Linked DNA regions of Homo sapiens: all the other regions are linked to region 1. The links are contacts of gene promoters, found by promoter capture Hi-C in blood cells and fetal thymus (Javierre and others, 2016). All regions are on one chromosome and are shown on one strand. The core of a region is centred on a gene start or on the middle of the fragment in contact, and the rest is flanking DNA. Distances in the headings are between cores, read along the strand shown.

The links. The method cuts DNA at HindIII sites, captures the fragments that hold promoters and counts their contacts. A CHiCAGO score of 5 or more calls a contact.
Region 2: a fragment that was not itself captured here is called in contact with the fragment with the promoter of AGO3 in region 1 in 2 of 17 cell types (M1 macrophages and M2 macrophages); the score reaches 5.4 in M1 macrophages.
Region 3: a contact is called between a fragment that was not itself captured here and the fragment with the promoter of AGO3 in region 1, in 2 of 17 cell types (M0 macrophages and M1 macrophages). The highest score is 7.5, in M0 macrophages.
Region 4: a contact is called between a fragment that was not itself captured here and the fragment with the promoter of AGO3 in region 1, in 1 of 17 cell types (M1 macrophages). The highest score is 5.3, in M1 macrophages.

Annotation. Positions count from the first base shown.
Region 1 is chr1:35,929,782-35,935,304 of GRCh38, forward strand. AGO3 (argonaute RISC catalytic component 3) reads left to right here and starts at 1,324. Exons shown (of 19, transcript NM_024852.4): 1 at 1,324-1,664. The coding sequence starts at 1,646. AGO1 (argonaute RISC component 1) reads left to right here. Exons shown (of 19, transcript NM_012199.5): 19 at 1-751. RefSeq lists enhancers at 940-1,463, 1,464-1,988, 1,989-2,511 and silencers at 967-1,476, 1,487-1,826. The HindIII fragment of the contact is 14,155 bases long and covers 1-5,523 here.
Region 2 is chr1:36,040,042-36,045,564 of GRCh38, forward strand. AGO3 (argonaute RISC catalytic component 3) reads left to right here. Exons shown (of 19, transcript NM_024852.4): 16 at 266-400; 17 at 3,406-3,507. Among named protein-coding and RNA genes, the nearest start is that of TEKT2, 41 kb to the right of the region's middle. The HindIII fragment of the contact is 4,354 bases long and covers 437-4,790 here.
Region 3 is chr1:35,823,568-35,829,090 of GRCh38, forward strand. AGO4 (argonaute RISC component 4) reads left to right here. Exons shown (of 18, transcript NM_017629.4): 4 at 1,746-1,927; 5 at 2,112-2,248; 6 at 2,359-2,493; 7 at 3,181-3,268. Among named protein-coding and RNA genes, the nearest start is that of AGO4, 18 kb to the left of the region's middle. The HindIII fragment of the contact is 1,468 bases long and covers 2,727-4,194 here.
Region 4 is chr1:36,017,442-36,022,964 of GRCh38, forward strand. All of the region lies in intron 11 of AGO3 (argonaute RISC catalytic component 3), which reads left to right. LOC105378647 (a long non-coding RNA gene) reads right to left here and starts at 4,220. Exons shown (of 3, transcript XR_001737972.2): 1 at 1,500-4,220. The HindIII fragment of the contact is 2,505 bases long and covers 1,725-4,229 here.

The DNA.
Region 1 (5,523 bases), core at 74-2,573:
TAGTAAATACTTGTGTTATTCACTAACATTTGGGGAGGATTTTCTCTGTGCTTTATGTATATTACCTAACCTTACAAACTGTGTAAGGTACATGCTGTTCTCTCAATTTTTCAGATAAGAAAATTGAAGCCCAGAGAGATCAAGTGACTGATCCAAAGTCCCACAGTGAGGGGAACTGAAGATAGGATATTCTTTCTCCTTTTCCTCTTTAAAAAATTATTTTGATTAAAAAAAACCGTATTACTGAAGCATAGGGACATGGGGAGAAATTATGAATGATTCCTCAGCCTGAATAAAATAGTATGTTTCATTAAGGCAACAAATATTTATTAAGGACCTAATATTTGCCTGACATTCAAGTGAGGTGGGGGGCACACAAGTAGTAAATAAATAACAGACTGGGCAAAGGGCTACCAAGGCAATACTGTAGTAGACTAACAGGTGCCCCACCATAGATGGGTGGTCCGGAAAAGGCGTCTCAGATGTCTTTCGTTGAGACGCAAAAAAAAGCTGTGGGGTAGGGCGTAAGGGGAGGGTGGAGAAGAGAGAGAGGGTTCCTGGCCAAGGGAACCAAAAGCAGAGAAGCTCCAAGTCAGAAAAAAGCAGCGGTTGGCCCGTTGGGAGAATTGGAAGCCAACCAGTATAGCTGTAGCACAGGCGGGGCCCATTTACGCCGTGCGTTTTCACCCTGGAAAGGAGTTTGGGTTTTCAAGTGTGACGAGGCGCTATTAAAGAGTTTTAAACATGGAAATTACTCGATCTGATGTTTGTGTAGTGTCCTGTTTGTTAGTCATCTTTTCCAAACTATAATACATTTTTTTTTTCCTAAAAATGGTCGTTAAAGCAGCCTAGGACTTAGGTCAATTGCGGTGGTCACTTGACCGCCTGTGAGGAGGCGGCGCGTGGGGTGGATCGGACTGGGCGTGGCGGGGGCTCAGGAAGGAGGGTGGCCCTACCCCAGCGGGCTCGGCTCGGGGCCTCCGCGGCAGTTCGGGGTCCTTCACCCGCCGGCTCCAGGTAGGCTACTCCTCAGGTAAGCCCCGCCGCCAGCCGCGACGTCGTCGCAGACAGGCACCGCCCCCACTCGTGCGGCGCGAGTAGTCCTGCCCCTCCGCGTTGTCTCCGGCCGGCACGGCCCGGCGGGGTACGGCCGAGCCCGCCGCATGTGGCCCGGCTCCCGGACACCTCCCCGGCGTCCTCCGCGCCGGCCGCTCCTGCCCCGACGTCGCTCCGGCACGGCTCGGGGCCCAGAGGCGAGGCGAGGACGCCGGGCAAGCCAGGCAGCGGAACTGACGCCGGCGAGCTTCCGGGGCGGCCCCGGGCAGGTCGGCGGCGGCGGCCCGCAGTCGTGGAGGAGCGGTGGGAGCGTCGGCGGCCGCGGGCGATGCAACTTCCGGACGGGACTCCCCTCTGTCCGCGCCTCACATCTCCCCTTCCTCTCGCCTAGTCCTGTGCCGTTTTCCGTCCGCGACTCTTCCGGCCCAGAGCTTTCGGAGTGCGGTTGCTCAGGGGAAGCCGTCGCCGCCCCCGCCTCGGGGCCGAGTGAGAGTGCCCGTCGCGTCGCGCCGCGTCGCCCCCCGGGCCGCCTCCTTGCCGCCAGTGGCGGGCTCCGTTCTCCCTCGAAGCACTCCCCCCAGCTCCATGAATGGAAATCGGCTCCGCAGGTGAGTCAGAGTAGCTGGGCCAGGTAGGGGATGTCACCCAGCTACTGTCCTCTGAGCATCCCTGCTCCTCCCGCCCGGCCCAGGTGCGCGAGGTGAGCGTCGGGCGGGCATCGCTCGGTCTCCCGCCCCTCGCCCTGCTCCTCCGCGACCTCCCCGCAGCCCAGCCCCAGTTCCCCGGGGGCCCCTGAGTCGGCGAAACTGCGAGGCGGGGAAACGCTTGGAGGATTTAAGTTTGGGGTTATCTAGGCGGCATTACTCTTTGCTGGAGTACCCTTCTTCTAGACTTTAGAATGGTTTGCCATTGTCTAGTTGGAGTGCGTGTCCTTTAGCCAGGTTGTGTGTTCCGTAGAGGCTGGGCAGCCAGCCAGCTCCCTTACCTACCTCTTAGGATAGTTGTGAAGATAGGCTGAGATAACGGATAACTTCAGATTAAGTTCGAAGGAGGTGTTGGTGCAACGTTAAATTCAACATGGCATTGCTCCTACCCTCGAGTTCTTTTCTGTTGTTTGTGGCAGCATGGTAGATAGTTTCTGAGGAGCTTGGAAATGTCATAGCAGCCTGGATCCCTGCTTATACGAGGAGGTGGTTCTTAAAATTGCTGACAGTATATTTTTTTTCATTCTCTATTCCTTAGAGAAGTAGTTGTCATATTCCTGGAAATTTGGAATTTAAGAAAACTGCTTTATCTCTGGGGGCAAGAGCAGCAGTTTTGCAGTCTTAAGAGAAAATTGCAACATGGATAGTACTTGTCCTTAAAAAAGGAAAAGTATTGTTTATGGTTCTAAAGTAATTAATTCAGGGACAGAAAGGTGTTGCATAACGGTTTGCCTAACAAATGATCATGCTTGGCTTATTAAATTTGAAAGTATGCTTCAGACGATCACAAGTTCGTAAATTAATTTTCAAAATATTTGCGGGGCTGTCTTGTTACTAATGGTGTTACAAGTTCCTGAATTCCATATCTCTTTTTGCCAATTTGATATAAGAAAAACTTACGTAAAAGAAACCAGTGACATAACGATAGCTAAGAACTTTGTTGAATAGATTACGTGTCAAATGGTTGCAAAAAAGCACTCAAACTGGGGAGATGAGATGGGGAGAGAGTTACAAATTTTTTTTTTTTTTTTTTACAAATTTTGTTACATGGAAGTTTCTCTAATCAATTTAGACCATATCTCTTTTTCCTGCTCCATTGTTTCGCTTTCCCCCATATCGTCTTAAAAGGTCTGTCTGGATTGTGAAAAGATTTCGACTCTTATTCAGTTTTGATTTGTGTATTTCTGAAACTGTCCTGCCCTTTTAAAAAAATTACCATACTACTGTTTTACTGTACAGGAGATGTGATTATTTGGGACCATAGGTGATCTTTGTACATAACTGTCCTGTTGTCAAGTCTGGAAAACAAGTCATGAAGGTCAGACCCTTTATTAATCATCCCAAAACTTTTAAAGATATTTCAAAAAAGTTTTTAAAGTTTTTTCTTTTTCTCCTTAGGGTTTTTCATATGATATTGTGCCCATATATATGGGAAATGTCTTAGAAAACATTTGTTACATCAAACCACCTAGTCAACTGGTACAACTAAGCCAAGTACAGCTCAGAAAATACATTTTACCTCTTCTTTTTTGGGTGTCCCATTGCTGAAATGGATACCCATTTAGCTGTCTTCACATTTGGGGAAGTGTGTAGTTAGATTATCAACTATATGCCTGGGTCTCTTGAAAAGTAAAGTTTTTTCTTCAGTACAGTTTATACATGATTGAATGTAGCCTAATAATGAAGATAAGCTATACTTTGGCTCAAGATTGTCATCAGAAACAAAATTTTCATTATTCCTGAGACTTGTATATAATTGGTATGCTTAGCTTTAAGTTGAAAGCATAGCTGTGCAACTAAATTTTAAATCCATAATTTAGGCTGGGTGTGGTGGTTCATGCCTGTAATCTCAGCACTTTGGGAGGCTGAGGAAGGATGATCGCTTGAGCCCAGCAGTTGGAGACCAGCCTAGGTAACATAGTGAGACCTGCCTCTACAAAAAACAGAAAACTTAGCCGAGAATTGTGGCACATGTCTCCAGTCCTAGCTACTTGGGAGGCTGAGGCAGGAGAATGGATTGAGCCCAGAAGGCAGAGATTGCAGTGAGCTATGATCGCGCCACTAACTCCAGCCTGGGTGACGGAGCAAGACCCTGTCTCAAAAAAAAAAAAAAAAAAAAAAAAAAAAAAAATCATCATTTGACACGTATTTTGATTTTAAAATTTTAGTATAAATGTTCTCAAAAAGTCTATTGACTCAGTATTGAATCTTGGCTTTCCAATTCTGCCATAAGTTTTTCTTTTTTGTGGAGATTCTCAGGAATCATCTTGTGATAGGATATTTTAAATTCTAGTTGCTCGGTGGATACACAGAAAACTGTTAAATTTGTTTACATTAGGGAACCTCGAACACAAATACCATATAAGTTAGTATTTGTTCTTTCATATGAAATATTTTAAATGCTTTTTAAGGATATCTTGTGCAATCTACTGATTTAGTACCATCAGAACTTTGATTTAACAAAAAAAAAGGTGAAATTAGTTAAAAATTAATCAACAGTTTAACATCTGTGTCTGTGACTCTTTAGTTGGGGAACATCTGATGAAACACCGTTTTTTATGGTCTAATTACTGCTGAACTAAGAGTATAGGTTATGTTTCAGTTCTAAATAAAGTGGGAATAGGGAGCTGCAGAAATGCTTGATGATGTTACTTCTCCTGAGTACTCATTTTTTAGGTCCATACTATTCTAGTCTATGTTTTCAGGTAATGTTAGACTACCGTTTAGGACAGAGGAACTACACTTTATAATGGAAGAAAAACATTTACTTTTACCTTAAATTAATGACATGCAAATTGTTTGATGTTTGGTGGAAGTTTTATACAGTCTTGCAAAAGTGAATAGACTGTTTCTTTCTTATTTACACTTTTAAATTCATGTCTGAAAATAGTTGTTTTAGAGTTCTGTGTTTATTTAATAATAAAAGTTTTAGAAAAGTTATTTGGAACCAAGTTCCAAAGGAATAAAAGTTGCATATATGGGAAGCTAGAACTAAATCAAGATTGGGATTTGAATGATGTAGATAAAAATTATGGGTCAAAAATACCTACTAAAATATGTAATGCCATCAGGGTCCCAATTTAGTATTTAAAACAATCTTCTTTTTATTTATTTATTTTTTTTGAGATGGAGTCTTGCTTGCTCTGTCGCCTAGGCTGGAGTGCAGTGGCATGATATTGGCTCACTGCAGCCTCTGCCTCCTGGGTTCAAGTGATTCTCTTGTCTCAGCCTCCCGAGTAGATGGGATTACAGGCGCGCACCACCATGCCTGGCTAATTTTTTGTATTTTTAGTAGAGACGGGGTTTCACCATGTTGGCCAGGCTGGTCTTGAACTCCTGACCTCAGGTGATCTGCCTGCCTCGGCCTCCCAGAAAACAATCTTCTTTAATAACTTTGAGAAATGTTTTTGTCGTTATATAAATTTTCTCACTTGTAGTTCTTTGCCTTGAAGAAAAAAAATCAAATTACTGCTCTGTCTGTGGGCATGAATTTTGAAAGTGATAAAGGTTTTTCTACTGGGTTGTCACTTAAATTTTGGCTTATGCTGCCCTGGAGTGACCATTATGACTTAAAAAAAATATATTTATTGCACTTGACTGGCAGTGGGACTTATAAAAATGTGCAAGATTGTTTTGATATTTGGTTTAGAATTTCTCTTTCAATGAAGGGACTCCGAGGGAAAACAAAAATTGAGACATAAAATAAATTTTTCCTTCTAAAAAAAGACTTAAGGGAAAAGACATATAGATAACCTTCAAATAT
Region 2 (5,523 bases), core at 1,364-3,863, 110 kb after region 1:
TGGTGTCTAGTTCTAGAGTTAAAAACCTTGTTAGAGTTCCCCAAGTCAAAACTTGGTGTTTTGTTAGATTGTCTTTTTGAAAATGTTCACTACGAATGTGTATGCCTTGCTTGCTAAGACCATGTTCTAATAATCGTTAAAATGGAATCTATTAGCTATAGAGTGGTGAAATTAAGGAATCCTGAGATTAAATCATTATCCTACTTTGAAGTATATAAAAACAAATAGCTGACTATATTGAATCTTTCCATTTCATATTCTCTAGGTATTATATTATGAACTACTAGCAATTCGAGAAGCCTGCATCAGTTTGGAGAAAGACTATCAACCTGGAATAACCTACATTGTAGTTCAGAAGAGACATCACACTCGATTATTTTGTGCTGATAGGACAGAAAGGGTAATCTCACCTCTGTTGTAATACTGTTATAAACCAAGCTTATCCAACATAGTTCATAGAGCATTCAACAAGGGCCCTCTGCCAACAGCAGGATTTCCAATATATAGTAGCAAATTTCAACAATTACATTATGAGTATAGAAGCATCAAAATAGATTATTTTTAACTTTCTAGAATTTCTAGTCACACTCCAAATATTCAAAATCTCATTCTACTTTTTTGTTGTGAAGAAACTCATGGTTTTAAAATTATTCTTCTATTCATATTTTCCTAAAATCTTCAGAAAAAACAGTACATTCTCTTTTTAAAATATCTCATACAAATTAGTTTTTTAAAAAAGTGGAAATTCAGGCCAGGCACAGTGGCTCACACCTGTAATTCCAGCACCTTGGGAGGCCAAGGCAGGCAGATCACTTGAGGTCAGGAGTTCAAGACCAGCCTGGCCAACACGGTGAAACCCTGTCTCTACTAAAAATACAAAAAATAGCCAGGTGTGGTGGCGCACATCTGTAATCCCAGCTACTCGGGAGACTGAGGCAGGAGAATCACTTGAACCCAGGAGGCAGAGGTTGCAGTGAGCCGAGATGGTGCCACTGTACTCCAGCCTGGGCAAGAGAGCAAAACTCCATCTCAAAAAAAAAAAAAAAAAAAAAAGTGGAAATTTATACAAACTAACTTTTAGCCATGTTTCCTTTAAAGTTCACAGAATTATTTTATGCATTTTATAATGTGAATGTATATTTTTTATAATTAGGAAGGAAAGAGAGGTATAAATACCTAAGGAAATATGTTTTCTTTTTTTTTTTTTTTTTTTTTTTTGAGACGGAGTCTCACTCTGTCGCCCAGGTTGGAGTGCGGTGGCGCGATCTCAGCTCGCTGCAAGCTCCGCCTCCCAGGTTCACGCCATTCTTCTGCCTCAGCCTCCTGAGTAGCTGGGACTACAGGCGCCTGCCACCATGCCCGGCTAATTTTTTGTATTTTTAGTAGAGACAGGGTTTCACCGTGTTAGCCAGGACGGTCTCGATCTCCTCACTTTGTGATCCGCCTGCCTCGGCCTGCCAAAGTGCTGGGATTACAGGTGTGAGCCACTGCGCCCGGCCAGAAATATGTTTTCTTATCTGTGTGCAGCAAGACAGCAGTCTTACTGTCATTTTCAGTGCTCTGATCACATCTGCCCCCATCCTGTAAATCTTGGAGCAGAGAAATCTAATGATACCAAGTGTTGTTTCCCCTTGAGAAAGGGATTTGATAGAAAGGACTAAGAGAGGGGTGTTTTTCTTTGCCATACATACTCACTGTATTCCTTTGGGCAAGCAACTTAACATCTCTGTGTCTGTTTATTTCTTAGCAAGATTGGATAATATTAATATCTACCTTATTTGGGTTGTCGGGAGAATTAAATAAAATACGTAATGCACTTAGAACAGGGCTTGGCCCACACTAAGTACTCAGTAAAGATTGGCTAGCTCTCATTAGTAGAGTGATGAGAACAAAAAAAAATTAATAAATAAAGTTTGGCTAGCTGCAGAGTGGTGGTGATAGTGGTAGAATAGAGAAGAAGAAATAATAATAGATATTGTTCTAAGTATTGCTTATAAATTTCATCAATTTAATCCTCACCAACAAGATTATGAGATAGTTGTATTTTTTTGTTTTTGTTTTTTTTGACAGTTTTGCTCTGTTGCCCAGGCTGGAGTGCAGTGGCATGACTTTGGCTCACTGCAGCCCCCACCTCCTGGGTTCAAGTGATTGTCAGGCCTCAGCCTCCTGAGTAGCTGGGATTACAGGCATGTGCCACCACACCCGGCTAATTTTTGTAGTCTTATTAGAGGCAGGATTTCACCATGTTGGCCAGGCTGGTCACAAACTCCTGGTTTCAAATGATCCGCCCACCTCGGCCTCCCAAAGTGCTAGGATTATAGGTGTGAGCCATCACACCCAGCCTACAACTTTTTGTATATATTAATTAGAAGATTTACGTGTTGCTAATTTATTAGAGTTAAGTATTTTTTTAGGACCAGGCATAATTTAGTAGATTATGAACTGTTTTGTTTTGTGCTTGGTAAAGTGAAGCTGGTTGGTCCACACCACTATAATTCAAGGTACTACCTTATAACAGTCACTCACGTGGCAAAAATATTATCTGAGTCAGTAAAATAGTTTCTGATTTGCTAGCCTTGTAAACCTAGACTTACAGTTAATGATTTTAAATGTGTTGGGATAAGGCGGTGGAGGTGGGTATAATAAACATTTTTAAGTGTTTTATAAGGAGCTTGTATCATCAAGAATTTTGGGTCATTTCAGTTATATTATATCCACTCAGAGAAAATCATGGTGTCCTCTTACAAGATGTTGAAACTGATAGTATGAAATAAAAGGAATAAGGCCTTTGCAATTATTTCATTGTTTGAATCCCAGTTCTGCCCTTTATTGTGTGCTATTGAGCAAATTATTTTGTATTCCTGAGCCTTTATTTCCCTAAACAAATGGAAATAATCCCTAACTTGCAGGATTGTTACCAGGTTTTAGAAATAATGTGTTCAAAGTGCCTGATCCATAAATGGTTAACAAATGGTGTGACTGTTGTTGATCTTGTCAGCATTCTCTCTCTCTAAACATCTAGTTTTCTCCAAGGTAAATGCTGATCTTCATAAATCACACGTTCAAGAATACCTACTATGCACAGGTACCATAAATTGGAGCACTTTAAGTTAATTTAAAAAAAATTTTTTTTAGTGTCTTCCACCCATAGTGGGGTCAACTATCAGCTAAGCAGTAGTAGAGACTGTATTAGGTTTTGTTGTGTATCAGCGCTCACTTTCAGCAACATGTAAGAATAGGAACTAGGACCTGCGTAGTCTGCTCTGAATGACTGCTTAAGTCATATTTCAAGGTGAAAGTAGTGAAATGTAGGATCAGCCTATGTATTCATACATTTTTTAAAGTGCTTTCAGATATATTTTTACCTTTTTCTTGTTTGTTTAAACTTTAACCAAACAAATCTAGGTTGGAAGAAGTGGCAATATCCCAGCTGGAACAACAGTTGATACAGACATTACACACCCATATGAGTTCGATTTTTACCTCTGTAGCCATGCTGGAATACAGGTAAGCCTACACTTTGGGTAAAATATTTTAATTCAAGAACTGTCATTCTTACGTGTATTTTTTAAATCTCAGAAAAAGGATAAAGAAATACTCTTTGCATTCCAAATTGTTTCCACATGAAATTAGATGAAACTTTCAGTAAACAAATGTCTTCCCTTTCCTTACCTTGAGAGGGGCTTAGGAACTTATTTTTATGAAAATACCAGAATATAAGTAGTTTAATAGAATGAATCTCCCTAAAACAGGCCCTTAATTTCACTAAAATGTTAAAAAATGTGAAAGTACCTGATTGTTCCTTTAGCATATGCATCTTTAAAAAAAAAAGAGAGAGAGAGAAAGAGAAAGCACTATTTTGCTCAGGCTAGACTAGAACTCTTGGGCTCAAGCAGTCCTCCCACCTCAGCCTCCCAAGTAGTTGGGACAACAGGCCTCCACACTCAGCTAATGACGATAACATTTTATAGAAAACTTTGACATGTACTAGTAGTATTAAGCATGTGAAAGAGTTTAATTGGGCTGGGCATGGTGGCTCACGCCTATAATTCCAACACTTTGGGAGGCTGAGATGGGCAGATTGCTTGAGTTCAGGAGTTTGAGACCAGCCTGGGCAACATAGAGAAACCCCGTCTCTACAAAAAATATAAAAATTAGCCAGGTGTGGTAGCACGTGCCTGTAGTCTCAGCTATTCAGGAGGCTGTCGTGGGAGGATCACTTGAGCGCGGAGGCAGAGGGAGGTTGCCATGAGCCAAAATCATGCCACTGCACTCCAGGCTAGGTGACGGAGCCAGACCTTGTCTCAAAAAATAAAAAAAAATTTAATTGTAGAATTACAGCTTTAGTTTTTTTTTGTTGTTGTTGTTGTTTTGTTTTGTTTGTTTGTTTGTTTGTTTTTGAGACAGAGTCTCACTCTGTTGCCCAGGCTGGAGTACAGTGGCATGATCTCGGCTCACTGCAAGCTCCGCCTCCCAGGTTCAAGTGACTCTCATGCCTCAGCCTCCCTAGTAGCTGGGATTACAGACTGAGATTACTGGGTGCCACCACACCCAGTAATTTTTTTATTTTTATTTTTTCTAGTAGAGACAGGGTTTCACCATGTTGGCCAGGCTGGTCTCAAACTCCTGACCTCAAGTAATCCGCCCACCTTGGCCTCCCAAAGTGCGGGGATTACAGGCTTGAGCCACTGCACCTGGCCTTAAGTTTCAGTTAAATAATTTAAAAAGTTTTTCTTATTCTTTCCAGAAAACCTTTTCATTAATGTGTTAGCTTTACTTGGTGGAACATAAGCTTTAAATCAGTGCATCTCAAACTTTCCAACAACAAAAAGTAAACTGACATTCCCAGGATGTCTGAGAGTCTATAACCCAAAACTATTTTAGGTTACTTGCCATTATTGATTAAGATAGAAATTTCCAGATGTACCTTACCATACAGCTCTGTATCTTATAGCTTTATATGTCCCACATATACGAACCTGTTTCAGATTCATGGCTTTAAATTATTGTCTGACTCATTTATCCATGTTCTTATATCAGCTCCTCTTTACAATTAATGTTGTACATTTTCAGGGTTGGTGGTTAATGGGAGGTCCAGAGGAAGTGATGTCAGCAAGATGGCTGACTAGAAGCCCCTAGTGCTTGCTCCCCTCACAAAGAAAGCCAGAAAAACAGATAAACAACTACATTTTTTTTTTTTAACGGAGTCTCACTCTGTCACCCAGGCTGGAGTACAGTAGTGTGATCTTGGCTCACTGCAACCTCTGTCTCCCAGGTTCAAGCAATTCTCCTGCCTCAGCCTCCCAAGTAGCTGGGACTACAGGCACCCACCACCATGCCGAGCTAATTTTTGCATTTTTAGTAGAGATGGGATTTCACCATGATGGCCAGGCTGGTGTCGAACTCCTGACCTCAGGCAATCCGCCCACCTCAGCCTACCAAAGTGCTGGGATTACAGACATGAGCCACCATGTCCGACCTTTTTTTTTTTTGAGATGGAGTTTTGCTTTTGTCGCCCACGCT
Region 3 (5,523 bases), core at 2,211-4,710, 100 kb before region 1:
GGCGTGTGCCACCACGCCCAGATCATTGTTGTATTTTATTAGTAGAAATGGGGGTTTCACTATATGTTGGCCAGGCTGGTCTCGAACTCCTGACCTCAGGTGATCCACCCGCCTCAGCCTCCCAAAGTGCTGGGATTACAGGCATGAGCCACTGCGCCTGGCCTTAATTTTTATTATTATTATTATTTTTTTTTTTAGTACAGATGGGGTTTCACCATGTTGGACAGGCTGGTGTCAAACTCCTGACCCCAGGTGATCCACCATCTCAGCCTCCCAAAGTGCTGGGATTACAGGCATGAGCCACCACGCCCAGCGAGAGTTGTTTTTTATAGTGATGATAGATTTGTTATTCTGTCCATATTCTCTTGTCTTAGTTAACTGATAATTGAAAATGAGATGAGCATTAGGATTGAGGTTGATTATGTCATCTTTACGTAATTTCTCACATTAACCATGTACTTTAACAAAGTACTACCTGAATCTGAACAACAGAGTTTTATAAATTATAGAAAACTATATAATACTCACTTATGAAAATAGATTATAATAGCACAATACTTTTTTAAACATTTATTTTTTTTAAATTAGAAAAGTACTGTGTGAACATATGCTCATAATAAATTTATCCAGACAATCTAGAAATGCTGTGATTTACCGCCTCCACCACTTATCTGCACCCTCACTACCATTTTCCTTTCCAAAGGAAACTACTATAGTAGTTTGGTATGTATCTTTTTAGATATGTTATGTATATTAGCTGCTATTTATACATATGTTGATGTGTATTCTTATTGTTTTGCATGTCACTCTATGATTTGCTTTTCATTTAACAATATGCCTGAAAGATCTTTCCATTTCTATACATTTATATCTACCTTATTATTTTTTTTCAAATTTAAGTTTTTATTGTTGTAAAATAATATATAACATAAAATTTACTATTTTTGGCTGGGTGTAGTGCTTCACCCAGCCAAAAATCCCAGTGCTGTGGGAGATCGAGGTGGGAGAATTGCTTGAGGCCAGTAGTTTGAGACCAGCCTGAGCAACACAGGGAGACCCATCTCTACAAAAAAAAAATTTCTAATTAGCCAGGCATGGTGGTGTGCACTTGTAATTCCAGCTACTTGGGAGGCTAAAGTGGGAGGATCCCTTGAGCCCAGGACTTTGAGGCTACAATAAGTTATTATTGCACCACTGCACTCCAGCTTGGATGACAGAGCAGGACCCTGTCTCAAAAAAAACTTATGATGTTATGTTACAGTTTAATGGCATTATGTATGTTCACATTGTTGTGCATCCATCATCACTATCCATTTTCAGAACTTTTTCATCATTCCAAACGAAAACTCTGTACCTATTAAACAATAATTCCCCATACCCTACTGTCCCTGGTCCCTGAGAACCACTATTCTACTTTCTGTCCCTTTAAATTTGACTATTCAATGTACTTCATAGAAATAGAATCATGAAATATTTGTCTTTTTGTATCTGGCTTGTTTCATTTAGCATAATGTTTTCAAGCGTCATCCATGTTATAACATCTACCTTATTTTTTCACTATTGTATAATGTTACATATTAAATTATACCCCTACTCATGGACACTAAGTTGTTTCCAATGTTACACAATTGTAAAAAAAAGTTAAAAGAAATATCCTTATGCATGTATCATACTGCATATTCTTGGGATCTTTCCCACAGCCATTGTAAACATTTGTGTTTGTATTCATGTATTTTTTTCCTTAGGTTGATATGGAGGTGACTCTTCCAGGCGAGGGTAAAGACCAAACATTTAAAGTGTCTGTTCAGTGGGTGTCAGTTGTGAGCCTTCAGTTGCTTTTAGAAGCTTTGGCTGGGCACTTGAATGAAGTCCCAGATGACTCAGTACAAGCACTTGATGTTATCACAAGACACCTTCCCTCCATGAGGTTAGTACCTTGGTTTGGATTATTTCCTACAAATGTCAGACTTTTTTGGTAGGTTGTACTGGAGCCATTGAAAAATTTCTGCATAAGTCATTGTTCAAATTTGATTTCAGCTCCCAGAGTTGAGAGTGAAATGAAGGACCTTTCACATGTTTAATGTGACACATGCAAACTCTTATTTCTTCAGGTACACCCCAGTGGGCCGTTCCTTTTTCTCACCCCCGGAAGGTTACTACCACCCTCTGGGAGGGGGCAGGGAGGTCTGGTTTGGTTTTCATCAGTCTGTGAGACCTGCCATGTGGAATATGATGCTCAACATTGATGGTAGGATGGAACTCTCTTTATCCAATAACTCTTTGGGCTGGTTTTTGTTTGTTTGTTTGTTTTGGCCCTTCCCTTTTCCCTGAAGTGAAGTATCCTTCTCTGTTTGTTAGTATCTGCAACTGCTTTCTACCGGGCTCAGCCTATCATTGAGTTCATGTGTGAGGTTTTAGACATTCAGAACATCAATGAACAGACCAAACCTCTAACAGACTCCCAGCGTGTCAAATTTACCAAAGAAATCAGAGGTAAGTGTTTGCATTAATGTAGTCTTGGAGAAGCAGCTCAGCATGCTGCACGTTGCCTGTGCTCTGGAGTCACACAGACCTGGGCTTCGGTCTCAGGCTAACCACTTCTATCAATGGGACCTTGGTCAAGTTCCTTAACCACTGTGAACCTTAGTGTATTCATCTCTAAGGTAAAGATAATAATATATACCTTGTAGAGTTGTTGTGAGAATTAAATGCAATTAGGCTTATAAAGCTTTCTAGCATAGTACCTGTCACATATCAGGCACTCAGTAAATGCTATGCTTACCCACTTAAGAACTTCCATTTTAATAAAATAACATAAATTCATTTATTATCCTTCTGGGATTTCTTTTCTTCTTGTTATTAGTTAGTTTCCCTCACTAGAATATAAACTTCACGAAAGCTGTCTCCAGACCTGAAAATAAGCATCAGAACATAGTTGATGCTTAATAAATATTTATTGGATGAAATAATAAACTAAAGGAGATTGAGCATCTTAGGTAATCTGAGTTCTAATTTATTCTGCTTAACTCAGGTTTTTTGCCTATAACGATGAAATTGTCCCCATATTCTTGCAATTTTTATCCTGTACAATGTCATGACATTTTGAAGACAACATTTGAATCTGTTTTTGCCACTGTGATTTTAATTAACTGATGTTTTGCCTTTTAAAAAAAATTTCAGGTCTCAAAGTTGAGGTGACCCACTGTGGACAGATGAAACGAAAATACCGAGTTTGTAATGTGACTAGACGGCCAGCCAGTCATCAAACGTATGTTAACCACATCTAAAGTAATACAATTACATTTTTAGTAACAGAGGGAGCTACTATAATTGTTTTAAGAAATTGGTTATTGGCCGGGCACAGTGGCTCACACCTGTAATCCCAGCACTTTGAGAGGCCGAGGTAGGTGGATCATGAGGTCAGGAGTTCAAGACCAGCCTGGCCAAGATGGTGAAACCCCATCTCTACTAAAAATACAAGAAAACTAGCTGGGCGTGGTGGCGGGTACCTGTAACACCAGGTACTCGGGAGGCTGAGGCAGAGAATTGTTTGAACCTGGGAGGTGGAGGTTACAGTGAGCCGAGGTCACACCACTGCACTCCAGCCTGGGCAACAGAGCAAGACCCTGTCTCAAAAAAAATTAATAAATAAAAAGAAATTGGTTATCTTGGCCAGGCATGGTGGCTCACACCTGTTATCTCAGCACTTTGGGAGGCCGAGCCAGGCAGATCACTTGAAGTCAGGCGTTCGAGACCAGCCTGGCCAACATAGTGAAACCCCGTCTCTACTAAAAACTACAAAAATTAGCCAGGCTTAGTGGCAGGCGCTTGTAATCCCAGCTGCTTGGGAGGTTGAGGCAGGAGAATCGCTTGAACCCAGGAGGCAGAGTTTGCAGTGAGCCAAGATCACACCTTGTACTCCAGCCTGGGTGACAGAGTGAAACTCCATCTCAAAAGAAAAAAAGAAAGAAATTGGTTATCTTATACTGAAATTTTCAAGATCACGAGAATCTTTGCTTTTAACACCAAAGTTTTAAAACATTTTCTGAATATTTTTGGTAGAGGTATTTATAAAACACATTCCTTGCCTTTAATTCAATTTACCTCTTAAGTAGAGTATGTTAAACATAGATTAACTTTTATTTAATCTATGTTTTATTTAATCTTTTTATTTAATGATGCAGAGTCATTATAAGCTTTTTTTTATTATACTGTTGTTATTCTTTTTTTTTTTTTTTTTTTTCTTTTGGAGACAGGGTCTCACTCTGTCACCTTCTGGGCTCAAGTGAACCTCCCACCTCAGACTTCCAAGTAGTGGGATTACAGGCATGCACCACCACACTCGCCTAATTTTTTTTGTAGAGGTGGGGTTTTGCTATGTTGCCCAGTCTGGTCTTGAATTCCTGGGCTCAAACAGTTTGCCCGCCTCGGCCTCCCAAAGTGCTGGGACTACAGGTGTGAACCAGCACACCCAGCCTACTGTTGTAATTCTTAATACATGGCTCAAAAGGTCTATTAAGGCCTAGATATCATATAAGGCTGTCAGGAGAAGACATACATGTAAATAAAATATATGAGAAGACATTTTATATGTATGTATGTATCTTCTAAAAAAAATACAGACACACGTATATATATAGTGCTTGGCACCGTCATGGCCCACTGCAGCCTCAGCTTCCTGGGCTCAAGCAATCCTCCCACCTCAGCCTCCTGAGTATCTGGGACTACAGGCATGTGCCACCATGCCTGGCTAATTTTTGTATTTTTAATAGAGATGGGGTCCCACTTTGTTGCCCAGGCTGGGAGAAGACATCTATTGCTTTGTGTTTTGTGTGGATTTCTCTCCCTCCCTTTGTAGGTAGCTGTCACTTCTTACAGCTGTTGGTGTCTATGGCATCCTCCAGCAGCATACTCCTTTCCATTTCCCCAATCTCATTTTCCTAATCACCCAACACTTCTTTTTTTTTTTGAGACAGAGTTTAGCTCTTGTTGCCCAGGTTGGAGTGCAATGTCGTGATCTCTGCTCACTGCAACCTCCACCTCCCCGGTTCAAGCGATTCTCCTGCCTCAACCTCCCAAGTAGCTGGGATTACAGGCACCTGCCACCATGCCCAGCTAATTTTTTGTATTTTTGGTAGAGACAGGGTTCCTCTATGTTGGCCAGGCTGATCTTGAACCCCTGACCTCAGGCAATCCACCCGCCTCGGCCTCCCAAAGTGCTGGGATTACAGGCATGAGCCACTGCGCCCAGCCCATCACCCAACACTTCTAATCTACTGAAAACTGTGCCTCAGTGAGACACTATATGTGAAAGTGCTTTAAAAATTATATCTGTATCTTATTCTTGTAATCAAGATCATGTCTGACATAAACATAAATATTGGCTCTTCTAAATAAAGAGTTAAATATACAGTATACACTTTACTACATTTACATTATTTTGGTTACTCAGAGCCCCCCCCCCCACACACACACCTTTTTTTGCTTATATTCTAATCTGACTTTGTTTTAGATTCATGATTC
Region 4 (5,523 bases), core at 1,727-4,226, 89 kb after region 1:
GTAATCTAGAGCAATTCTATTATCTAGCACAACTTTAGCAAGATAATTTAAAGTCTCTTGTATAACCATAGTCTTTGCAGTAGAATCTGCTAAAGAGCCTATAAATTTCTAATAGGCTAGAAAATTTAGAGAGATAAATTTCTAATCATTGCCTCATTACATTAACTCCAAACCATAGGCCAGGCGCAGTGGCTCACACCTGTAATCTGCAATCACTTTGGGAGGCTGAGGTGGGCAGATTGCTTGAGCTCAGGAGTTCAAGACCAGCCTAGGCAACATGGCAAAACCCTGTCTCTACTGAAAATTCAAAAATAATCCGAGCACAGTGGTGCACGCCTGTGGTCCCAGCTACTCAGGAGGCTGAAGTGGGAGGATTGCTTGAGCCCAGGAGGCAGAGGTTGCAGTGAGCCGAGATCACGCCACTGCATCCCAGCCTGGGCAGCAGAGCCAGACCCTGTCTCCAAAAAGGAAAAAACACACCATAGAAAAATAAACTAACAAATAATGCCCATCCAGAAGAGTGAAGGCCTCCTGGCACTATTCTCTTTAACCTGTATTGACAATGTTCTCTTTTTTTTTTTGAGGCTGGAGTGCAGTGGCATGATCTCGGCTCACTGCAGCCTCTGCCTCCCGGGATCAAACAATTGTCCTGCCTCAGCCTCCCAAGTAGAACAGGCACGTACCACCACGCCCAACTAATTTTTTGTATTCTTAGTAGAGCGGGGTTTCACCACGTTAGCCAGGATGGTCTCCATCTCTTGACCTCGTGATCTGCCCACCTCGGCCTCCCAAACTGCTGAGATTACAGTTGTGAGCCACCATGCCTGGCCGACAATTTTCTCTTTAAATTATGATGTAGGTTAAGAGGAGTTGACCAGTGCTCTGTTTCTGACTGATTATGAAGCAAAAAAGGTACCATTAAAATTTCTCACCCACATTGGCCCTTCATCTTCCCTCTATCAAGGCGTAAACTTCTCTGTGTGTGAGGGTTTTTGTTTTTTTTTGTTTTTTGGTTTTTGTTTTGAGACGGAGTCTTGCTCTGTCACCAGGCTGTGATCTTGGCTCACTGCAACCTCCATCTCCCGGGTTCAAGCAATTCCCCTGCCTCAGCCTCTTGAGTAGCTGGGACTACAGGCATGTGCCACCATGCCTGGCTAATTTTTTGTATTTTAGTAGAGATGGGGTTTCACCATGTTGGCCAGGATGGTCTCGATCTCCTGACCTCGTGATTCACCCGCCTTGGCCTCCCAAAGTGCTGGGATTACAGGCATGAGCCACCACACCTGGCCAATATGAGGTTTTTTTTATCCTTCACAAATAAAAGTATACCTTGTGAGTGTACACAAGAGACCCCTTTTTCAGTTTAGTTGTTCATAACAGGCATGAACTTGGAAAAAATTGAGAGCCAAAAGCCTCATGATAGCAGAGAAGTCTTGATCCACAATCTTGGGAAATCTGTCCACATCTAGGAGGCCATCTGCTTCTCGGGAGAAACTTACCTCATTAGCTTTACCTTAAGTTCTCCCTCTGATGGGTGTGTGGTTCCAAGAGTCTGGGTGGGCCTTTCTAAGTTGTGAGATTACAAACCCAAGCTTCAGGGTCCTGAAGTTTCGCTGCAGTGTGGGTGACAAGGGGAGTCTTTCTCTGATGTGTTTCCAAAAGATCCAGCCTCTGAATTCTATATCATGAAGGGTTTGCTTGTCCTGAGTCAGTGGTCCATGAAAAGCTTTCTTTACCTGGTGAAAATACACTTTGGCATAATACATTACAGCCTTGCAGCATTTAGTCACGTTAAGGTTTAGGAGCATAAGATACAGAAGGTTCTGTTATTAGGAGCATAAGCCTTCCAGTGACTATTTCATAAGGGTTCAACTTTTGTTTTCCCATGGAAGTGGATCTGTTTGTCATCAATCTGAAACATCTTTGACCAAGGCAATCCAGATTATTCAGTTAGTTTTGCCTAATGCTCTTATATCTGTAATACCTTATTTAACTGTTTTACAGCCAGTCCAGTGAGGCAAGTATCTCTATCACTGGAGATTTCTTCAGCAATGTTCTATGAGAGAAACACATTTCCTAATAACCTTTTAGCTGCTGTTATAGCATCAGCCCACTTGTATGAGAAAGCTCCTGTACAACCAGAAAATATGCACTGAAAATCACAATTGAATGAAATCCCTCTGTAAAGTGTTCAGATGTAGCAGAAAGGTACCTGAAGTTTTGGTTGTCTTCTCAAGATTATGGGTTTGACAAACTATACATTGGTCATAAACCATTTTAGCAATTTAGAACAGTCACAACACCAATATATATGTAAGGTGTTTGTTTGTTTGTTTGTTTGTTTTGAGACATAGTCTCACTCTGTCACCCAGGCTAGAGTGCAGTGGTGCGATCTCGGCTCACTGCAACTTCCACCTCCCGGGTTCAAGCAATTCTTGTGCCTCAGCCTCCCAAGTAGCTGGGATTGCAAGTACCTGCCACCACACCCAGCTAATTTTTTGTATTTTTTAAGTAGAGACAGGCTTTCACCGTGTTGGCCCAGGTGGTCTAAAACTCCTGACCTCAGGTGATCAGCCCACCTTGGCCTCCCAAAGTGCTGGGATTACAGGTGTGAGCCACCATGCCCGGCCAGTATATACATTTTATCTCTTCCTTGATGAATCATGGAATACAGCTTCTAGTAATGGAATTTTTAAGGACTCAGGAAGGAGCAGGCAGCCGGCTGTCCAGTCTCTCTCCATGAGTCCATGCTTAACACTGGAATTGTATCCTCTTACATAGCAATTTTCTTTCTCCAATGGAGGTGCACAGCACTGTTTATTAGATGGGTTATCATAGGTAGTTTGACCTGGACCATGGAGTTCATTCAAATTATGTATCTTAATAGTTTCAGTACTGACTGAGTTAGCATGAAAATCTGGCCAAGTATTTTCTTGGTATTCATTTAATTCTTGTGCTGCTTGAGTTAGCAGTTTTATATATCACTCTGTCTCTTCAATATGGTTCTGGTAATTCTTACTCAGTCCAAACGATATGATCCTAAAGTTACCAGAAACCTATCTTCAGGAGTGCTTACCAAGGTCCATTTCATCTTTTCCATTAACCTCCTTGAAGACAAAATAGGATTTTATTTGCTTGTGAAGTTATTTTTAATAACTGCCATACATTTATTTATTTATTTATTTATTTATTGAGACGGAATCTCGCTCTGTCATCCAAGCTGGAGTGCAGTGGTGCTATCTCGGCTCACTGCAACCTCCTCCTTCCTGGTTGAAACTATTCTCCTGCCTCAGATTCCCGAGTAGCTGGGACTACAGGCGCATGCCACCATGCCTTGCTAATTTTTTTGTATTTTTAGTAGAGATGGGTTTCACCTTGTTGGCCAGACTAGTCTCGAACTCCTGACCTCAAGTGGTCTACCAACCTTGGCCTCCCAAAGTGCTGGGATTACAGGGGTGAGCCACTTGCACCCAGCCTGCCATTACTTTATTTATTTATTTATTTATTTAGAGACGGAGTCTCGTTCTGTCACCCAGGCTGGAATGCAGTGGCACAATCTCGGCTCATTACAACCTCTGCCTCCCAGGGTCAAGCAGTTCTCCTGCCTCAGCCTCTCGAGTAGCTGGTATTACAGGTGTGTGCCACCATGCCTGGCTAATTTTTTGTATTTTTAGTTGAGATGGGGTTTCATCATGTTGGCCAGGCTGGTCTCGAACTCCTGACCTTGTGATCTGCCCACCTCAGCCTCCCAAAATGCTAGGATTACAGGCGTGAACCACTGCGCCCAGCCGCCATTACTTTGAACAGCAGAAACCGCAATTACTTTTGCACCAACCTAATATTAGAAACTGCTTTAGAATTAAGTAATTAACTGTGGAAATGACTTTAAATGGTCATAAAGACACAATTGAGAAGGAAATTTGGTTATTTCTGTGGCCTACAATAGTTTAACGTAATAACCATAATTATGTCTGATAACATATACTGAGATACATGAGAATTTTCATAATCTTATACAATTTTGGAATATATATTAATATTTATAAAAATATAACTCGATGGAGTTTAAACATCACTTCTTATTTGACACTGTTTCTCATGTAATTTTACGTATAAAATAAGCCTGTTTATTATCTCTTTTGACTGTTGTAGGGGACCTCTGTAACATCCCAAAGTTAATTTGAGGTCAAAAAAAGACTTAATTTTGAATTTGAAATTTGATTTGGGGAAGCTTGTCCAATATGTCAAAGATTGAAAACACTTGGCCCAAATAGGATCACAGGTCACTGTGAAATAAGTCATTCATTTAGCCAAGGTGATCATTAAAAGGTTTTTTAAAAGCAAAACCTTTATTATTTGATAGAGAGGAGACTCAATTTTCTAGTCAACAGACCTGAAAAAGACAATATGATACAGAATCTATCTCTCCTTCTTTCCTCTCTCTTTTTTTTTGTGCAGTTTACTCAAAAGGTGAACAAAAATATTTTGCTGTTACTGAAGCTTTTTATTTGCCTTTTATAGAAAATCTTTTAAAAGAGGGAATAAAAATATTGAAATCTTATTAGAAGCTTCTGCACATTAATAGGCATCCGCATCCTTGGATGAAACTAAGTTGGGGGCCTTTTTTTTTTTTTTTTTTTTTGACATAGGGCCTCACTCTTTTGCCCAGGCTGGAGTGCAGTGGCGTGACCATGGCTCACTGCGCCTCAGCCTCTCAGGCTTAAGTGATCCTCCTATGTCAGCCTCCCAAGTGGCTGGGACCACAGGGACTTGCCACTATGCTCTGCTAACTTTTTTTCTTTTTTTGTAGAGACAAAATCTCACTATGTTGCCCAGGCTAGTTTCAAACTCCTGGACTCAAGTGATCCTCCTGCTTCGGCCACCCAAAGTACTAGGATTATAGGCATGAACCTAGAGCCCTCATTTGTAAATAGACTTCTTAAAGTGCAGTATTATTCATTTTGAATGTTCTACTATAATTTTAAATTACATAAAGTGAGATTTCACCATTTCAGTAAGTGTTTGCTGCTTTAGGGTCCTAACATTTATGAGTGTATAGCTAGGCATAGCTGTAAGGTAGAATACTCAGTTCTTCAGAAATTAAGGATCCCATTTTCCCTTGAATCTTGGCTTTGGCTGTCAGATCCCATTGATCATCCAATGATTTTTCCATGCCTAAACACACAAGAAAAAGAAACAAAGGGCATAGGCTGGGCGCAGTGGCTCACGACTGTAATCCCAGCACTTTGGGAGGCCGAGGCGGGTGGATTACCTGAGGTCAGGAGTTCGAGACCAGCCTGGCCAACATGGTGAAACCCCATCTCTACTAAAAATACAAAAATTAGCCGGGCCTGGTGGTGGACACCTGTAATCTCAGCTACTCGGGAGGCAGAGTCAGGAGAATTGCTGGAACCTGGGAAGCAGAGGTTTGATCGCTCCATTGCACTTCAGCCCAGGCAACAACAGTGAGACTCCGTCTCAAAAAAAAAAACAAAAAAAAAAACAAAAAAAAAAGAGAAACAA